4 separate regions of the Homo sapiens genome follow, and all the other regions are linked to region 3. Evidence: promoter capture Hi-C in 16 types of primary human blood cells and fetal thymus (Javierre and others, 2016). All regions are on one chromosome and are shown on one strand. The core of a region is centred on a gene start or on the middle of the fragment in contact, and the rest is flanking DNA. Distances in the headings are between cores, read along the strand shown.

Region 1 (4,357 bases), core at 404-2,903, 770 kb after region 3:
CAATGCAGACTCTTTATTACACCATTACTAACTGCCCTGTTTAAATTGGGGCAGGCTGATGTGCTTGTAGAACAACCTAAGGTGAGTGATGGACCAAAAGCCTCTCAAAACCCATGCAGCTTTTGAAATACTGCAGAACATTTGGCCTACCATGATTCCCATTAAGTTTTTGCTGACTGCCAGAGATACTCAAGCACACTTCAGTTCTACTCATTTCTTTAACTGGTCCTTGCTGCTAGGCTGTCAGCCTACAGTTAGTGTCTATGTTTAAGAATACTGACAACAGGCCGGGTGCAGTGGGTCATGTCTGTAATTCCAACACTTTGGGAGGCCAAGGCAGACGGATCACCTGAGGTCAGGAGTTCAAGACCAGTCTGGCCAACCAACATGGTGAAACCCCGTCTCTACTAAAAATACAACAATTAGCCAGGTGTGGTGGTGCATGCCTGTAATCCCAGCTACTCAGGAGGCTGAAGCAGAGAATCACTTGAACCTGGGAGGCAGAGGTTGTAGTGAGCTGAGATCACGCCACTGCACTCCAGCCTGGGTGACAGAGCGAGACTCCAACTCAAAAAAAAAAAAAAAAAAAGAATACTGACAACGGAGGGCCTTTGTTGATGTCATCTTCTGCCTCTGCCCAATCATGCTTTGTTCCCTTTCCTTTCCTTACACAAGTATTGATCCCAAGAATTTTTCAATAAATGTCTTGTATGCTCAAAAAAAAGAATACTGAAAATACAGAAACTCCAAGGACCATCCAAGGACCATCTCCATGCTTAGGATGCCCCTTATTTTAAACTGATTAGATGTGACAGATATGAAATTGGCAGGGGGCAATGGAAATTATGCTAAATGCAACTACTTTCAAAAGCCTGATGCCTTTGGCCCATCTCCTAACCACACAATTGGTAAACACAAGGCATATTTTCCTAGTTTCAGAAGGGCACGCAGTAAGCACATTTTTCTAATTTTAAAAATTCTAGATCATGTGAAGCAAAAAGCTTATTTTCAAGAATAAACATTTCCACTACTTCTGCTTCTTGTAAAGACAAGCTAGTATGCAGACACGAGATAGGGGAGGAAGCAGTTCCCCTTTCTGCCAGAGAATAAGCTCAAAAAGTGTCTCTGAAAAATCAATAACCATGCAAGCTGGGTCTGGTGCTACCCACTGCACAAGAGCTGTCTAATAATGATGCCAGAGGAAGTTTTCTATGATTCTAAAGTTAAAATTCAACATAAACACTAATATTATTTCCTGATTTTATAAAATTCTTTTTTTTTTTTTTTTTTTGAGATGGAGTCTCACTCTGTCAGCCAGGCTGGAGTGCAATGGCGTGATATTGGCTCACTGCAACCTCCGCCTCCCAGGTTCAAACGATTCTCCTGTCTCAGCCTCACGAGTAGCTGGGACTACAGGAGCATGCCACCACGCTGAGCTAATTTTCATATTTTTAGTAGAGACAGGCTTTGCCATGTTGGCCAGGATGGTCTCGAACTCCTGACCTCAAGTGATTTTCCCGCCTTGGCCTCCCAAAGTGCTGGGATTATAGACGTGGGATTACAGACCTTTGAAGTGATCTCGTCCATCCCACCTGAGCTTTGTGACACTAGTCCGTTCATTTCTGTTTCCCCAGTGCCATCTCACAGAGCTAAAATTGGAGAGATTTAAAGCCTTATTCCCACAAGCTGCAGGGACTGATCTCCTATTTAATGCAAAGCAAGCAACAGTTCTCAACTCAGTGCCACTGCGTCCAGCCCTTATTTTATAAAATTCTTAAAAGTCTCCAAATACACCCTTGTCTAAAGTCTCCTGTCCTCAATTTTTTAGACAGAGCTCCTCCAGATCAATAACCCTTAACCACGGTTATTGCCTCAGAACTGTGAATATTTTTTAAGTTTAACTCAACTTAAAATGTATCCCTTGTAGGAGGAAATCATCACAAATGCCAAGTGATAAGCCAGAAATCAATTTTATTTTAACCAGCTGGCCCATGACGCCAGGTTGCATATTCCACTCCTGGATGGTTTGGCAATTCCTGCCTGAATAGGGAAGTAAAATTAAGTGAAGTTGTATTCAAACTACCTCCCTCCCCTTCACCACCATTACAAGGACAAGGGTTTATTCATTTCTTTCCAGTAGCTGCACAACGTAATTGCCATCAGCCCTACTGAGGAAGCTGGAGGCATCAGCTTACCTTGTGGAGAATGACATCAGCCCTCAGCATCTTGTCCACAGTAGACTTTGGGAGAGAGAGGTTGTGATACAGGAACCCAGAGAAGGTTTCATTGTCCACCAGGAAATCTTGAAGCTTCAAGTCTATTGAGAAATAGTGTTTTATTTTTATTTAGTAAGTAACTCAAAAAAAAAAAAAAAGTGGGCACAATGGGACAGTGGAGAAACGTTATCATAATATTGATGATCAACAGTTGCCTGGCTAAACACACACAGGAATGAGATAGGGGAGCATCGCCATATCAGGAGAGGCATGAAAATATTGCTTTCTGGTAACATGTTGAGCCACACTCAGCATGTGCTCCTCAACTCAAACAGTGTGATGGTGCTGTTACACACACACACACACACACACACACATACACACACACACAGCCTTTCCTTTTCTTTTTTTTTTTTTATTTTGAGACGGAGTCTCACCCTGTCACCTAGGTTGGAGTGCAATGGTGGAATCTCAGCTCACTGCAACCCCCGCCTCCCGGGTTCAAGAGATTCTCCTGCCTCAGCCTCCCGAGTAGCTGGGATTACAGGTATGCATCACCATGACTGGCAAATTTTTTTTTTTTTATCTTTAGTACAGACAGGGTTTCACCATGATAGGCAGGCTGGTCTCAAACTCCTGACCTTGTGATCCAACCTGCCTTGGCCTCCCAAAGTGCTGACAGTACAGGCGTGAGCCACCATGCCCGGTCTTTCTCTTCTAAATGATCTCACCCACCCCACCTGAGCTTTGTGGCACTAGTCCGTTCATTCCTGTCTCCCCACTGCCTTTTCACAGAGCTAAAATTGGAGAGATTTAAAGCTTTATTCCCACAAGCTGCAGAGACTAATCTCCTGTTTAATGCAAAACAAGCAATGGTTCTCAAACTTAAGTATGCATCAGAATCACCTGGAGAGCTTGTTAAAATGCAGACTGCCGGGCCGGGCCGGGCCGGGCCGGGCCGGGCCGGGCCGGGCCGGGCCGGGCCGGGCCGGGCCGGGCCGGCCCCCACCCCCACCCCCACCCCCACCCCCACCCCCACCCCCACCCCCACCCCCAGAGTTTCTGATACAGCGGCCCTGGGATGCGACTGGAGAATCACTTACAGGTGATGCTGATGCTGCTGACCTGGGGACCATGTTTTGACAAACACTGGCAGAGTGCATTACGCATATCAAAGTGCCTTCACAGACATGGTCTCATTTTCATTCCAAACATAAAACATGTGATACAAAGCTCCAAAACCCAGGTCTGCCAGGCTTTAGGAAAACACATTAACATATATTTAAACCATCAGCCCTATTAAATGATTTGATTGCTAAAGGATTTCATACGGAATCTCCCTAAATAATAGGCCCTCTGAGTACAGTTAGAAAAGGCTTCAATCCAGTGCAACAAAACAGAAAAAGCAGCACTAAGAATCCAGAATTTTAGTTTCTAGAGTTGGAGGCTGTGTCTGGTGGCGTCCCTGCGTACCTCATGTCATCTTTCTGAACCTCAATTTCTTGATCTCCAAAATGAGAGGTTTCTGACCAGATGCTTGGTAGGAGCCCTATGACTCCGAAACAGTATAGTTTTCCCTGACTCATCTCATTTGGCTGTCTACCTCTTCTCCTTCCAACCCACTCTCCTAACAGCCTAACTTCTTTGTAATAAAGATAAAACCAGCTCATCAGGACCACATGAACTGAGCCCACATGGCCAGGCACTAAGCAACCTCTAGAGGGCAAACTTTGCAAACTGAAATCATTTACCAGAAGAGAAACAGGTTTGATCTGAAAATGGGGCTACAGTGTGAGGCTTAATGAGGACAGGAGTTAATCCGCGGAGCTAAGAGGGTCACATGCAGAGATAAAGTAACAGGAGGGCCTGACAGCCCAGCCAGTCTCTCATAAATGCTGTATGATCCAGGTGTATTCTGCTTTAGGCAAACTTCAGTAATATTGAGTTATATAGACAGAATAAATTGAGCAAGATTTACATCGCTAGAGAAATGATTCACTGCTACCCCTCTATGGCTAGCTCCTAGTTATTCCTCATGACAGCCAGTAGCTGTTCTTAGGCCCAGTTAGTGTCCCTCAGAATCAGTGCTCCTGCAAACTGCTACCTACCTGATGCTTCCCATCACATGTGACTCTACACTG
Region 2 (4,193 bases), core at 1,008-3,507, 640 kb after region 3:
TGGGATAATCAGCAAGCCACACGTAGAAGAATACAATGGGATCCTCATCTCTCACCTTATATAAAAATCAACTCAAGTTGGATCAAAGACTTAAATCTAAGACCTGAAACCACAGAAATTCTAGAAGTTAACATTGGTAAAACTCTTCTAGACACTGGATTAGGGAAAGAGCTCATGACCAAGAACCCAAAAGCAAATGCAACAAAAACAAAAATAAATAGATGGGGCCTAATTAAACTAAAAAGCTTCTGCACAGCAAAAGAAATAATCAGCAGAGTAAACAGACAACCCACAGAATGGGAGAAAATATTCATGAACTATGCATCCAACAAAGGACTATCCAGAATCTACAAAGAACTCAAACAAATCAGCAAGAAAAACAAACAATTCCATCAAAAAGTGGGCAAAGGACATGAATAGACAATTCTCAAAAGAAGAAACACAAATGGCCAACAAGCAATAGTTAAAACATGGAAGCAACTCAGTGTCCATTGATGAATGAATGGATATGCAAAATGTGGTATATACATAAATAAAATATTATTCAGCCTTAAAAAGGAAGCAAATTCTAACACATGCTATAACATGGTAAAGCACTGAGGACATCATATTGAATAAGCCAGTCACAAAAAGATAAATACTGTATGATTCCACTAATATGAGGTAGTTAGAGTCATCAAAATCATAGATACAGAAAGTAGAAGGGTAGTTGCCAGTGGCTGGGGGAAGGGGAGAATGGGGAATTATTATTTAATGGGCACGGAGTTTCAGTTTTACAAGATGAAAAGAGTTATGAAGGCTGGATGTGGTGGCTCACACCTATAATCCCAGCACTTTGGGAGGCCAAGGCAGGTGGATCACCTGAGGTCAGGAGTTTAAGACCAGCCTGGCCAAGATGGTGAAACCCCGTCTCTGTAAAAATACAAAAATTAGCCGGGCATGATGACGGGTGCCTGTAATCCCAGCTACTCAGAAGGCTGAAGCAAGAGAGTAGCTTGAACTCAGGAAGTAGAGGTAGCAGTGAGCCAAGATGGTGCCACTGCACTCCAGCCTGGGTGACAGCTCAAAAAAAAAAAAAAAAAGAAAGAAAAGAGTTCTGGAGATGGATGGTGGTGATGCTTGCACAACATTATGAATATATTTAATACCACTGAACTGTACACTTAAAAATGGTTAAGATGGTAAATTGTATGTTATCTGTATTTTACCATAATAAAATATATTTTATATATATATATATATATATTTTTTTATTTACCAGGCCCAAATAATTTCCCTGGATAATTCTAACACATTTTCCAAGAACAGGTAACCCCTGATATATAAATTGGTTCATAAAATATTTAAAAAGGGAATGGGAAGCTCCCCCAACTCTTTTTGTAAGCCTGTATGTACAGCCCTGAAACAAAAACTGAACAGGGAAAATATGAGAAAGGAAAACTTAAGAGCCAATCTCACTTATAAACATAGACAGGAAAATATAAAATACTAGCAAACAGAATCTAGCAATGTAGAAAATAATAATACCTAACTTTCGGGTAAGGTTTATTCAAACGATGCAAGGAAGTCATAACATTGAAAATATTTTAATGTAATTCACTATAATTTCAATTAACAGATTTTAAAAATTATCATTTCATTAAATGCAAAAGATCTTTTGATAAAATTTAATAGGCACTCATAATTTAAAATAAATAACTTAGCAAACTACAAACAAGCAAACTTTTAAAACTGATATAAGGGGTATTTATCAAAACTTACAATTGACAAATCCCCTTTAAGTTTACAAACAAGATAAGAATGCTGGCTTTCACTTTTTTATCCCCCGCAGAGAAACGGTCTTGCTCTGTCACCAAGGCTGGACTACAGTGGAGTGATCCTGCCTCATTGTAACCTTGACCTCCTGGGCTCAAGTGATCCTCCCACCTTAGTCTCTTGAGTAGCTATGAAGTACATGCTAATTTTTTGTTTGTTTGTTTGTTTGTTTTTGAGACAGGGTTCTCTCTGTGTTGCCCAGGCTGGTCTTCAACTCCTGGCCTCAAGTGGTCGTCCCCCTCTGGCCTCTCAAAGGGCTGGAATTAGAAGTCTGAGCCACTGTGCCAGGCCTGTTTTCACCTCTTATAGTCAACATTGCACAGAGGTCCTATGTACGACAATAAAGAGAGAAGGGGGCAGTGGGAGAAATAAAAATCGGGAAGGGAAAGAGGAAAGAGGGGAGAAAGAAAAAGAGAAAAATGGGAAGAAAGGAAGGAAAGAAGGAAGGGCAGGAGGGATAAAGGAAGGAAAAGGAGTCGTAAAGATTGAAAAGGGAGAAACAAAATTGTCATTATTGCCTAAAAATAAGATTATCTCTGTAGGAAGTCAGAAAAAAATCCATTAGAAAATCTTAAAATGTAAACTACTAAAAGGCTTTAGCAAGGCTGCCAACCACAAGATCAACTCAATAGTATTTTCTGCAGGAAACACAACTGGTTAGAGAATATACTTTGAAGTGCATCTCATGACATCACAAAAACTATAAAATGCCAATGAATAAAAACTGCATAAGGAATTTTTGAGGAAAAATATAAATCGTCATTAAAGCACACAGAAAAACCTCCCAAAAACTGGGGACACAAATTTTGTTCATGTTAGGAAATTCAAGAATAAATATATGAATTTATTCAGAATTTCTCTGTAAATCTAATATAATTTCCATCAAAATGATACTGAGATTTTTTTTAGTTTCTCAAACTTATCCAAAAATTCATACTGAATAGCAAAGACAAAGAATAGCCAAGACAATGTTATAATAAGAAATGTATATTTACTATACAAAATGTCAAGATGGATAATAAAGCTACAGTAATTCAAATTGCTTAGTACTGATACAGGTAAAGACAAATTAATCAATGGAACAGATTAGAAGGATCCAGAAATAGCCTAGGCATCTGTGGAAGTTTATATCCCAAGTGAATGGTCTTTGATTTATAATGGCATTACAAATCGGTAGGGAACAAATGAACTATTTAATAAACTGTTCTTTGGTAATGGACTACTAATATTGAAAAAAAGATCAAATTAAATCTACACCTCATACTGTGACTAAAATAAACTTGAGAGAGATTAAATACCTAAAGGGCAAAAGCAAAACTGTAAAAATATCTACAGGAAAATATACAAGAATATCATCATGCACAAGGAAAAAGAAAGTATACCTTAAATAGGGGGAAAAGCACAAAAACATGAGACCAATAATTTAAATTTAGAAACACCTATATGGCAAAATACTCTTAGAAAGTTTAAATAATAGCTACAAATGGGAGAACATATCAGTAAAACATACATCCAAAAAAAAGATTAGTCTGGAAGTTTTTGTTTTGTTTGTTTTGAGATGGAGTCTTGCTCTGTCGCCCAGGCTGGAGTGCAGTGGCACAATCTCTGCTCACTGCAACCTCTGCCGCCCAGGGTTCAAGCGATTCTCCTGCCTCAGCCTCCCAAGTAGCTGGGATTACAGGCATGTGCCACCATGCCCAGCTAATTTTTTTGTATTTTTAGTAGAGACAGGGTTTCAGCATCTTGGCCAGGCTGGTCTTGACCTCCTGACCTCATGATCCACCTGTCTCGGCCTCCCATCACTTTTGGGTGATGGGATTACAGGCATGAGCCACCACGCCCGGCCGGAATATATATATATATTTTTTAAAGCATTCAAACCAAGCCAGGCATGGTTGTGCACCTCTAATCCCAGCCACACCTTGCGAGGCTGAGGGGACAGGATTGCAACATTCAAATCAATATGAAAAAGATGAACAACAAAATAAAAAATTGGGCCAAGAATATAAACAGGGACCTCAACAAAAGAAAAACAACATGGCCTATAAAATTATGAAAAGATTCTCAATTCACAAGAAATCAGAGCAATATAAATGAAATCAATGAAACATTTTTCATCCATAAGATATGCAAATATTAAAGTCTTACAAGAATTGCAAGAATGTGCAGGAAGAGGAAATACGATTCACTGCCTGGGAGCATAAATGGCTATGGTGAACCAAAAATTGTAAAGTTGACTCATTAATTCCACTTACAGGGATGTGCCTAAGGACATATCTACAAAATTACTCATTGAAGCATTATTTATAAACCTGGGAATATTTAAGTATCAAAAGAGAAAGAGGAACAAAGTTACAATATGCTCAAATATTGGATTG
Region 3 (4,280 bases), core at 496-2,995:
GAGCCCAGGGGATGCAGGAATCAAGGCAGACAAAGATATCTGTTGAATTAAATTAATGTTAGGTCACTACCCATGGTTGACATCACAGAAGTGGATAAGCATACCAGAGTAAACAAAGGAATCCTTTCTTAAACAAAAAACCCATACAACTTATTTTACTCCCTTATCGAGAAATATTTTCAAAATATAAGCCCATTCCTGGTAGGTTAAGACCAATTCAGATGACTGCATTGCCATTCCAGGGCCAAGAAAGCAACTTTAAAAACATGACCTACGCTATGGTCTAAATGTGTCCCTCAAAATGCACATTTTGAAATCCTAACTCCCGAACTGACGGTTTTAGCAAGTGGCATCTTGGGAAGTGAGGAATGGGATTAAGGTCCTTATAAAATAGGCCCAAGCGAGGGCCTCTGCCTCTCCACCATGCGAGGACAGAGCCAGAAGGTGCTATCCACTAAAGAGAAAGCACCCCTCCCTAGACACACCTTATTCTGTGACATTCCAGCCTTCAGAAATGTGAAGAATAAACTTCTGTGGTTCATAAACTACCCAGTCTAGGATATTTTGTTATGGAAGCCCAAAAGGATCAAGCCATTCCAAAATAGCATTGTTGCCCACACCATCTTTTTGAACCTCACTTAGGGTAACACCATACCCATTCGGAGTTAAGCCCTTCCTAACTCTTAAGTATCAACGTGCTTGGAAACGTGAGCAATCCTGACACGTTTTTTCTTCCTAAAGAACAATACATACTAATAATAGGATCGGCTAATAATACTAGATTCTATGCATGAAGCCTAGTATTTAAAAGCATGCAATCTGGAGCTAGACCGCCTGGGAACAAATCCCAGCTTACTAGACAAGCTGTTTAACCTTTTACTTGGTCTCATTTAACTCATTTGTAAAACGAGGGCAATTTCTGATTTCATAGGGTTGCTACGTGGATTTTAAAAAGCCCCTTGCAATATAGCCTAATATTCAGAACTCAATAACATGAACTGTCTTAAAAGGTTTCCAGAAAAAATCCCCAACAGGTTAGGTCGGCTTATCATTACAACGCTTTCCGGTATAAGGGAGATGAATAGCTATTTAGCACCACACAATTTCTCCTCTGGGCTCGGAACAGCTCTCGGTAGACTACGATCCCTTTCCGACGTGGAAACTTCAGATAAAAACGCTCCCCGAGGTCCGAGGCCAGTACGGGGCGGAGCCAGGACGCGGGCCAGAGTCCCCCGAAGGACGGTGCCTCTCTGGCCCCAAGAAGTACAGCTTTTATTTTGCAGCAATCTGAGCCAACCCGAGAAGATTCTGAAGCTTCCAAAACAGAACCGACGAGAACACTCATAGAATGCCTCTCCACTTCCTAACTGTCGCTTTGAGGAGAGAAAAGTAAGCCACAGCCAGCACCGCAGACTGGAGAAGGCGGAGTCTGCAGTGTGCCTAACGCGAACTAGAGGGACCGAGGCGGGGCGGGGCTGGCGAAGCGCGAGGACCCGGGGCCGAGGTGTGGGGCTGACCATAGAGTGCCGGACGCCGGTGTGAACATACACTATCTGCTCCTGTAGTGCCCAGGCCCCTGCCGGGGAGTCCCCGGAGCTACCATTATCGAGACTCTCATTCTATTGCCCTGCGGCTTTAATCCTTCGAGTGTAGGGGAAAAATTGAACCCTAAAGACAGGCAGCTCCTAGGCACCAGCACAGGAAATAAGCAATGGAGGTGGGGTCCTTTGCTCGCGCCGAAATTCAAAGGAATAAATAGTTCCGGCGCGGGTGTTGAGAGCGGTGTGGCAGGTGTTGTAGCCGCTATGGTGAAGTTCGCTTTGTAGCGGCCCCGGCTAGAGAGTTGTTCTGTTCCCTGCCTTTGTGACCCGGAGGAGCTTTTGGGGTGCGTCAAGCCCCTGGCCTGAGGCAGCGGTGAGGCGTGTGCGTGAGCACGGCCGGTTGGGCCGGGCCAGACTTCCTGGCGGGAGGCGGGAGGCGGGAGGCGGGGCGCGGGGCGCGGGGGCTGTAGGGAGGGGGACCAGTGGCAGAGGGACCTTAGGTGATCCTTAGAAATAAAGGCTAGCTTCTGTTCGACCTTGGAGTAGGGCGAAGAGGTGTAGACAGGCCTGGAGAAGCGAGGTAAAAGCCTGAGTAAAAGCAAGAAGTTGGAGAATATGAGATACATCTCATCTCTAGTAAATACTTAAATGACTTCCCCTCCTCCCGGAGTCAAGCACAATTCGGGGATGCAATGACGGACGTAGGTGAAGACACTGCGGGAACTTACAGACAAGTAATGACCGTCTAATATCAGCTTTAAGTACCATGAAGGAAAAAGAAAGCCGAGTGAAGGATTGTGGAGAGGTGACATAGGGAGGTCAGGGAGGACTCCAGTAAGGTGACATTTGAGCAAAGACGTGAGTGCAGTAGAGAGTAAGCTATGTCAGTATCAGAGAAAAGCACATTATAGGCAAAGATAATGGGATATGTAATAATCCATAGTCTTTGTTTAGGTAGAGTATGATAAAAGTAGAAGGCAAGCCTGGAAAAACGGGTAGAAGAAATAGTTAAGACTTCCCAGTTGAATGGTTTAATTTCCAGATAGTGGCTAACTCTGGTATATTTTTGAGTAGATGAACGATGTCTTTACATCAGACAAGATAGTTTGTCAAGTGGCTGTTTTATTTCTATCACCCTATCGTTGCTGTTTTTGCCTCGTGTTCATTATGATTCCAGGTTTACATTCCACTTAGGTGGTGGTATTTCTGTTTCGTACAGAACTGGTTTGTGGCCTGTTTGATTCCTGTCAGAGGTTTGCTGACCCAAGACAGTATCGAAAATGCATATTAAGTCAATTATTCTAGAGGGATTCAAGTCCTATGCTCAGAGGACCGAAGTCAATGGTTTTGACCCCCTCTTCAATGCTATCACTGGCTTAAATGGTAGTGGGAAATCCAACATATTGGACTCCATCTGCTTTTTGCTGGGCATCTCCAACCTGTCTCAGGTAAAGTGTAAACTTTCTGATTTATTTGAATTTAAGTTGGCAGGAGAATCCTCACTGAACTTTGGAGACGTCCCGATATTCTCTTCATTTGTGTTTTTATACTTTTTGTAAATTACACCTCACTGCAACCTTTTAAGGAAAGTAATATTACTCCTTTAGATGAGAAAATAGAAACTTAGAGATGTTTAGAAGTAACAGTGCCTCAAAACTCAGGCATTCTGACTGTAAAGCAGTCTCATTCCAGAGTATTTTCAACCCTGTGTAATGATGCCTTTTCAAATCCTATTAATGGATTGAATGACTAGTGAAAATCTTTGGGACAGTATTTCCTTATATCTTGCAAAGTAACTTTTTATTAAAAAATGAATAGGAAACAATTCAATTCAGGGTTGAAAAGGTTCTGTAGAGAAAAGTGTCCATTGCAGGTTGTTGCCTATTTTCCTTGTTTTTCTTGCCAGAGGATGCAGCTGCCTAACCTTGTCTACTTAATGGACACTACGTTGGTGGGTTTTCCAACAGCAAGGGACCCATTTTTAGTGCTGCTTTGTACGGTAGGGAGTTTTGTAATTGTTACACTTTTCATATTTTATTTTAGGTTCGGGCTTCTAATTTACAAGATTTAGTTTACAAAAATGGGCAGGCTGGTATTACCAAAGCCTCTGTGTCAATCACTTTTGATAATTCTGACAAAAAGCAAAGTCCTTTAGGATTTGAGGTTCATGATGAAATCACAGTAACAAGGCAGGTGAGTGGCAATTAAACCTTTGGGTATCTTAAGACCTTTTATGTCTGATGTGGTTTTTGGCCCTATGCCTTTGCAAAACGTGCTAGAGAAAGTTCATGAGCAAAATTGGTGCCTTAAATTCTGACTAGATTCCTTAATGTCTTCCTTATATTAAAATCTTGATCATGCACATTCTATCACTAAGAGGATTGAAAGACAGCTGAAAAGTTGTTCATCCAGTATAAGCACTCAGCTATGCTGAAATCTTAAACCATATTTGAATCTTCTTTGGTTGTTCTTGAACACCTGTGTACTTGAGATCTTTCAATCTTCTGAGATAACCCATTCTGTTTTTGGACAGGTCTTATTAGAAAGTTAACAGCTATAAGTTTTGTCAGAGTCTGCTGTCTTCAAATTTTATTCATTAATCCTAGTCCTCTTGAGAGCACCAAGAGCAAATCTAACTTATTCCCTACTTCAGTGTTTAAGTGATGTGCAAGTATATGTGTTTTAGTTCTAAGTGAAATCTTGCCAGGTCTTTCACTTGATGTTTGTTCCTAGTTCCTT
Region 4 (4,429 bases), core at 583-3,082, 880 kb after region 3:
CGAGCCACCCTACCTGGCCTGCCTGCCTTGCTTGAGAAGCTGCAGCACTATTTTGTTCACCATTGTATTAGCAGTGCTAACATATAGTGGCCTTTTCATACATGTCAAATAGACATATAAATGATGAATGCATGAGTCCAGTGTCTGACCTTCATGTCTGTGCCCAGAGTCTGTTGGGAGAGGTGGAGATGAAAATAGAGGTAGGCTGGGCACAGTGGCTCACACTTGTAATCCCAGCACTTTGGGAGGCCGAGGCGGGCAGATCATGAGGTCAAGAGATGGAGACCATCCTGGCCAACATGGTGAAACCCTGTCTCTACTAAAAATACAAAATTAGCTGGGCATGGTGGCACATGCCTGTAGTCCCAGCTACTCGGCAGGCTGAGGCAGGAGAATCGCTTGAACTTGGGAGGTGGAGGTTGCAGTGAGCCGAGATCGCTCCACTACAACCTGGTGACAGAGTGAGACTCCGTACCCCCCGCCACCAAAAAAAAAAAAAAAAGAAGAAGAAAATAGAGGTACATGTTTATACAAAGTTTGGAACAGGAAGGCAGATGCACATAACTGCCTGGCGTGGTTCCAAAAACCTGAATGGAGAAGGCAGTATCTGCTAATGGGGGCTCTCTGCTAAGCTTTGGAATTGTCCATTATTGTATTAGCATATAAGAAGTTATCACACCAAAGGCTCCCCATGAGCCTTGCCTGGGAAAGGGACTGATTATTTAAGAGCCAACCAGCACAGGTACGGAGATGCTACCCTCTTCTAGGTGGTCATCTGGAGAAGCTGTGCTTTCCAGGGACTCTGGATTTCTTCAAATATCCTTGGAATGCTCCTTGTGGAAATGGCTTTTGAATCTACAGCACATTCTTTTGGACCTCCTCAGCACAGGAACATCTCGTTCCTTTAGGGATTTGATAGTTGGGAAGAGCCAGAAGTCACTTGGCTGGAGGTCTAGAGTATGAGGAAGATGATCATGCTGCATAATAGCTGCTGTTGAAATTTGAAGGAAGGAGTTAGTATGCTGACATAGGGCAAGAGTTCTCATCCTGGAGTGTGTGGAAGTTTTTAAGTATATGTGTATTTTTGTCTATTTATTTTTGAGACAGGGTCTCACTCTGTCACCCAGGTTGGAGTGCAGTGGTATTATCTTGGCTCACTGCAACCTCTGCCTCCCAGGCTCAAGGGATCAATCCTCCCAGCTCAGCCTCCCAAGTAGCTGGGACCACAGGTGTGTACCACCATGTCTGGCTAAATTTTTGTATTTTTGGTAGAGACTGGTTTCACCATGTTGCCCAGGCTGGTCTTGAGCTCCTGAGCTCAAGTGATCCACCTGCCTCGGCTTCCCAAAGTGCTGGGATTACAGGCGTGAGCCCCCACACCTGGCTGTATGTGTTCTTTACTGAGGGATCCTGTTTTTAGCTTTAACAGATTTTCCCCAAGGACTCCATGATTCAAAGAAATGAACAACTACTGCTATAGATTCAGGAGATCTTAGGAATTCTTAGGAGAATCCTAAGAAATCTTAGGATTTCTTCTGTGGCTTGTAAAGTGGCTCTGAAGGAAAGTCATGTCTTAGGAAAGCAGAGGATAGGTTTCAGCTGTGCCTGCAATTGGAAATGTTGTCTCAGTGGGTTTCAAAGCTCCAGAGCCTTGGTGACCCCACATACGAAGTGAAGAGTAGAACTGGGTAGGTGGTGTCTATGGGTCTGACTGTGACCCCATGAAATTCCAACAAAGGAATTTCAGAAATGTTCTTCCAAGATAGTGGAATCCCTGGACTAGGCATGTAATGCAAACTTCCCAGGTGACTCAAATGACGGCCCCAATTTGGATGCTTGTTAGTAGTGTGTGTAAGGAGGCAGACCTGGTCTTATTTCTCAGTAAATTCCAAACCCAGAAGGAAAAACCAGGAATGGTCCTTTTTGGCATCCCCAGCCTCTAACATAGGGCAGAGGGCTTTGGTGTGCGTCAGTAGTCTGGAAGGAGGAGCTCAGCCTGGTCACTTCTGCATTGGAGCCTAGAGCCTTTTTTTTTTTTTTTTTTTTTTTGCCATACTCTTAAGCCTGTAGCAGCCACTGTTGATCTGGGGGCCTTAAAAACAAGTTTGGGCCAGGTGTGGTGGCACACCCCTGTAATCCCAGCTCTTTGGGAGGCTGAAGCAGTTGGATCACCTGAAGTCAGGAGTTCGAGACCAGAGTGGACAACATGGTGAAACCCTGTCTCTACTAAAAATACAAAAATTAGCCTGGCATGGTGGTGCATGCCTGTGATCCCATCTACTCGGGAGGCTGAGACATGAGAATCACCTGAACCCGGGAGGCAGAGATTGCAGTGAGCCGAGAACACACCACTGCACTCCAGCCTGGGCAACAGAGTAAGACTCTGTCTCAAAAACAAACAAACAAACGAAACAAGTTTGGTCTCCTAATTTCATAAAACTCTGAGTACCCAAGAGTCACCCTTGAAGAGGAGAAAGGGATGGAAGGAGGACCCCTCCCCCATGTTGTACAATGAGCAGAGTCAGGGCAGAAACACAGAGTTCACTGAGATTAGAGACATGTGAAGAGCCGCCTTCACAGGCTCTCACCTCTCCCTGATTGTATGTACGTGGGCTTTTTGCTTCTTTGCTTTTTGCTCAAGCTGTTGACTCTGAAATTTCTTCTCTCCATTATTTTCACCTGCAAAATCCATTCTGAGGAATGCTGTTTCTTCTTAACAAGTTCCTGCACATTACTTAAAACTCTCAGATATGTACTCCACCAGGAACCTTTCCCTGAGATTCCATCCACACCCTGCACTCAGTTGTTTACCTGCTCCTCTGAGTGGTCATTATACCTTGACATTCCATTCTTTCAGCTGAAGGGCTCTAAAACCTCGCACCATTTGGCCACCCTCTGTCTCTGGTACATCTCTACTCTTCTTATTCCAGCCATATTGGTACAACCTGCCTCAGATACTCTTCCTCCTGCCTCTCTATAATTACCTGAAAAGCTCCTTCGTCCTGTAATACTCCCTCTGTTGTGTTCTCTACAGAAGCTTTCTCTGACCCCAGAAAGAGTTTATTGCCCTTCACCCTCTATCTTGAGACTTTGCAATTTTTTTTAACATACCTATCACAGCACTGAACACACTACTTTACATAGAAATGTTCTGTTTATACACCTATCATCTGAGCTAGACTGTGGGTTCCTTTACCACAGAGACCTTTCTTCTCACCACTCTTGAGCTTGGGACTTAATAGATACTCATTAAATGTTGAATAAATGAATTAATGAATATTATTGTTTGTCTACATGTGTGTTCCTCCTACTTTTTTATGAAGTCTTTGAGGCTAGGAATAATGGCTTACTTATATCTTATTCCTGATAGCTAACTTAGTGCCTGGTATATAGTAGGCACCCAATAAATATTTTCATTGGATATACATGGATGAATGAATAAAGTCTTTTGTTAGTATCTCCAACCTGATATATCCTTTCCCTCCTTTGAAACCTCAAGCGCCTGGTGTTTCTCCTGTGGTACTTTCTTTAGCTTGGACTTCTCTCATTGTCTAATCCCCGCCAGTTGATGGTCAGCTCTTTGAGGCGGGAGCTGGGCCTTACTTCCCTTGGTGTCCCCTGAGAGTCTGTCACAGCGTGGGGCATATAGCGGGTGCTCCAAGTTGAACTGTTCTGAGAAAAATGAAAGTATCTGTGATTCAGAGCCACCATTCCAGCAATGAGAGTCCCAACAGCTATACATATTGAATCTCTTAATAACACCACTTTGCTTCATGCACAATTAATGTTGCCAAACTCTGGGTGATACAGGCAGGCAAAGTTGAAAAGACCACATCATTATTATTATTATTATTTGAGACAGAGTTTCACTCTTGTTGCTGAGGCTGGAGTGCAATGGCACAATTTCAGCTGCAACTTCTGCCTCCCATGTTCAAGTGATTCTTCTGCCTCAGCCTCCCGAGTAGCTGGGACCAAAGGCACATGCCACCACACCCAGCTAATTTTTTGTAGTTTTAGTAGAGACAAGGTTTCACCATGTTGGCCAGGCTGGTCTTGAACACCTAACCTCGGGTGATCCACCCACCTTGGCCTCCCAAAGTGCTAAGATTACAGACATGAACCACCGTGCCCAGCCATGAAAAGACCACATTATTTCATATTTGTTTTAGCTGTAATGCTCTGTACTCGTTGGTGCTCAGTCAATATAATTTTCAAATAAATAAGGACATGAGGCCATCTAAGTATGGATGAGCCCCAGAGTCCAAAAGCATAGCAGAAAGATGAAAATCACATCAGCCCCTGAGGAGAAATGAGAAAGTAGCCCCGTGCATTCCCCTTCAGGGTAGTGGCTTTAAAAGAATTGAAAAACTTGTTTTTCTCCATAAAAGTCTTGAGTGCAAACATGTAGTTGAAAACTATACACTTTGAA

What was found. Contacts are between HindIII fragments. The CHiCAGO score rates a contact against its expected background, and 5 or more counts as called.
Region 1: a fragment that was not itself captured here is called in contact with the fragment with the promoter of SMC2 in region 3 in 2 of 17 cell types (total B cells and naive B cells); the score reaches 11.2 in total B cells.
Region 2: a fragment that was not itself captured here is called in contact with the fragment with the promoter of SMC2 in region 3 in 2 of 17 cell types (non-activated CD4 T cells and fetal thymus); the score reaches 8.9 in non-activated CD4 T cells.
Region 4: a fragment that was not itself captured here is called in contact with the fragment with the promoter of SMC2 in region 3 in 1 of 17 cell types (total CD8 T cells); the score reaches 5.7 in total CD8 T cells.

Annotation. Positions count from the first base shown.
Region 1 is chr9:104,859,484-104,863,840 of GRCh38, forward strand. It overlaps ABCA1 (ATP binding cassette subfamily A member 1), which reads right to left. Exons shown (of 50, transcript NM_005502.4): 6 at 2,196-2,317. Among named protein-coding and RNA genes, the nearest start is that of ABCA1, 66 kb to the right of the region's middle. The HindIII fragment of the contact is 1,308 bases long and covers 1,000-2,307 here.
Region 2 is chr9:104,736,765-104,740,957 of GRCh38, forward strand. All of the region lies in intron 1 of LOC107987105 (a long non-coding RNA gene), which reads right to left. Among named protein-coding and RNA genes, the nearest start is that of NIPSNAP3A, 8.8 kb to the right of the region's middle. The HindIII fragment of the contact is 4,028 bases long and covers 244-4,193 here.
Region 3 is chr9:104,092,564-104,096,843 of GRCh38, forward strand. It overlaps SMC2 (structural maintenance of chromosomes 2), which reads left to right and starts at 1,746. Exons shown (of 25, transcript NM_006444.3): 1 at 1,746-1,914; 2 at 2,761-2,989; 3 at 3,585-3,734. The coding sequence starts at 2,822. RefSeq lists enhancers at 1,029-1,698, 1,161-1,480, 1,699-2,366. The HindIII fragment of the contact is 5,032 bases long and covers 1,313-4,280 here.
Region 4 is chr9:104,969,890-104,974,318 of GRCh38, forward strand. It overlaps CT70 (cancer/testis associated transcript 70), which reads right to left. Exons shown (of 4, transcript NR_184160.1): 4 at 3,432-3,667. Among named protein-coding and RNA genes, the nearest start is that of CT70, 20 kb to the right of the region's middle. The HindIII fragment of the contact is 2,405 bases long and covers 631-3,035 here.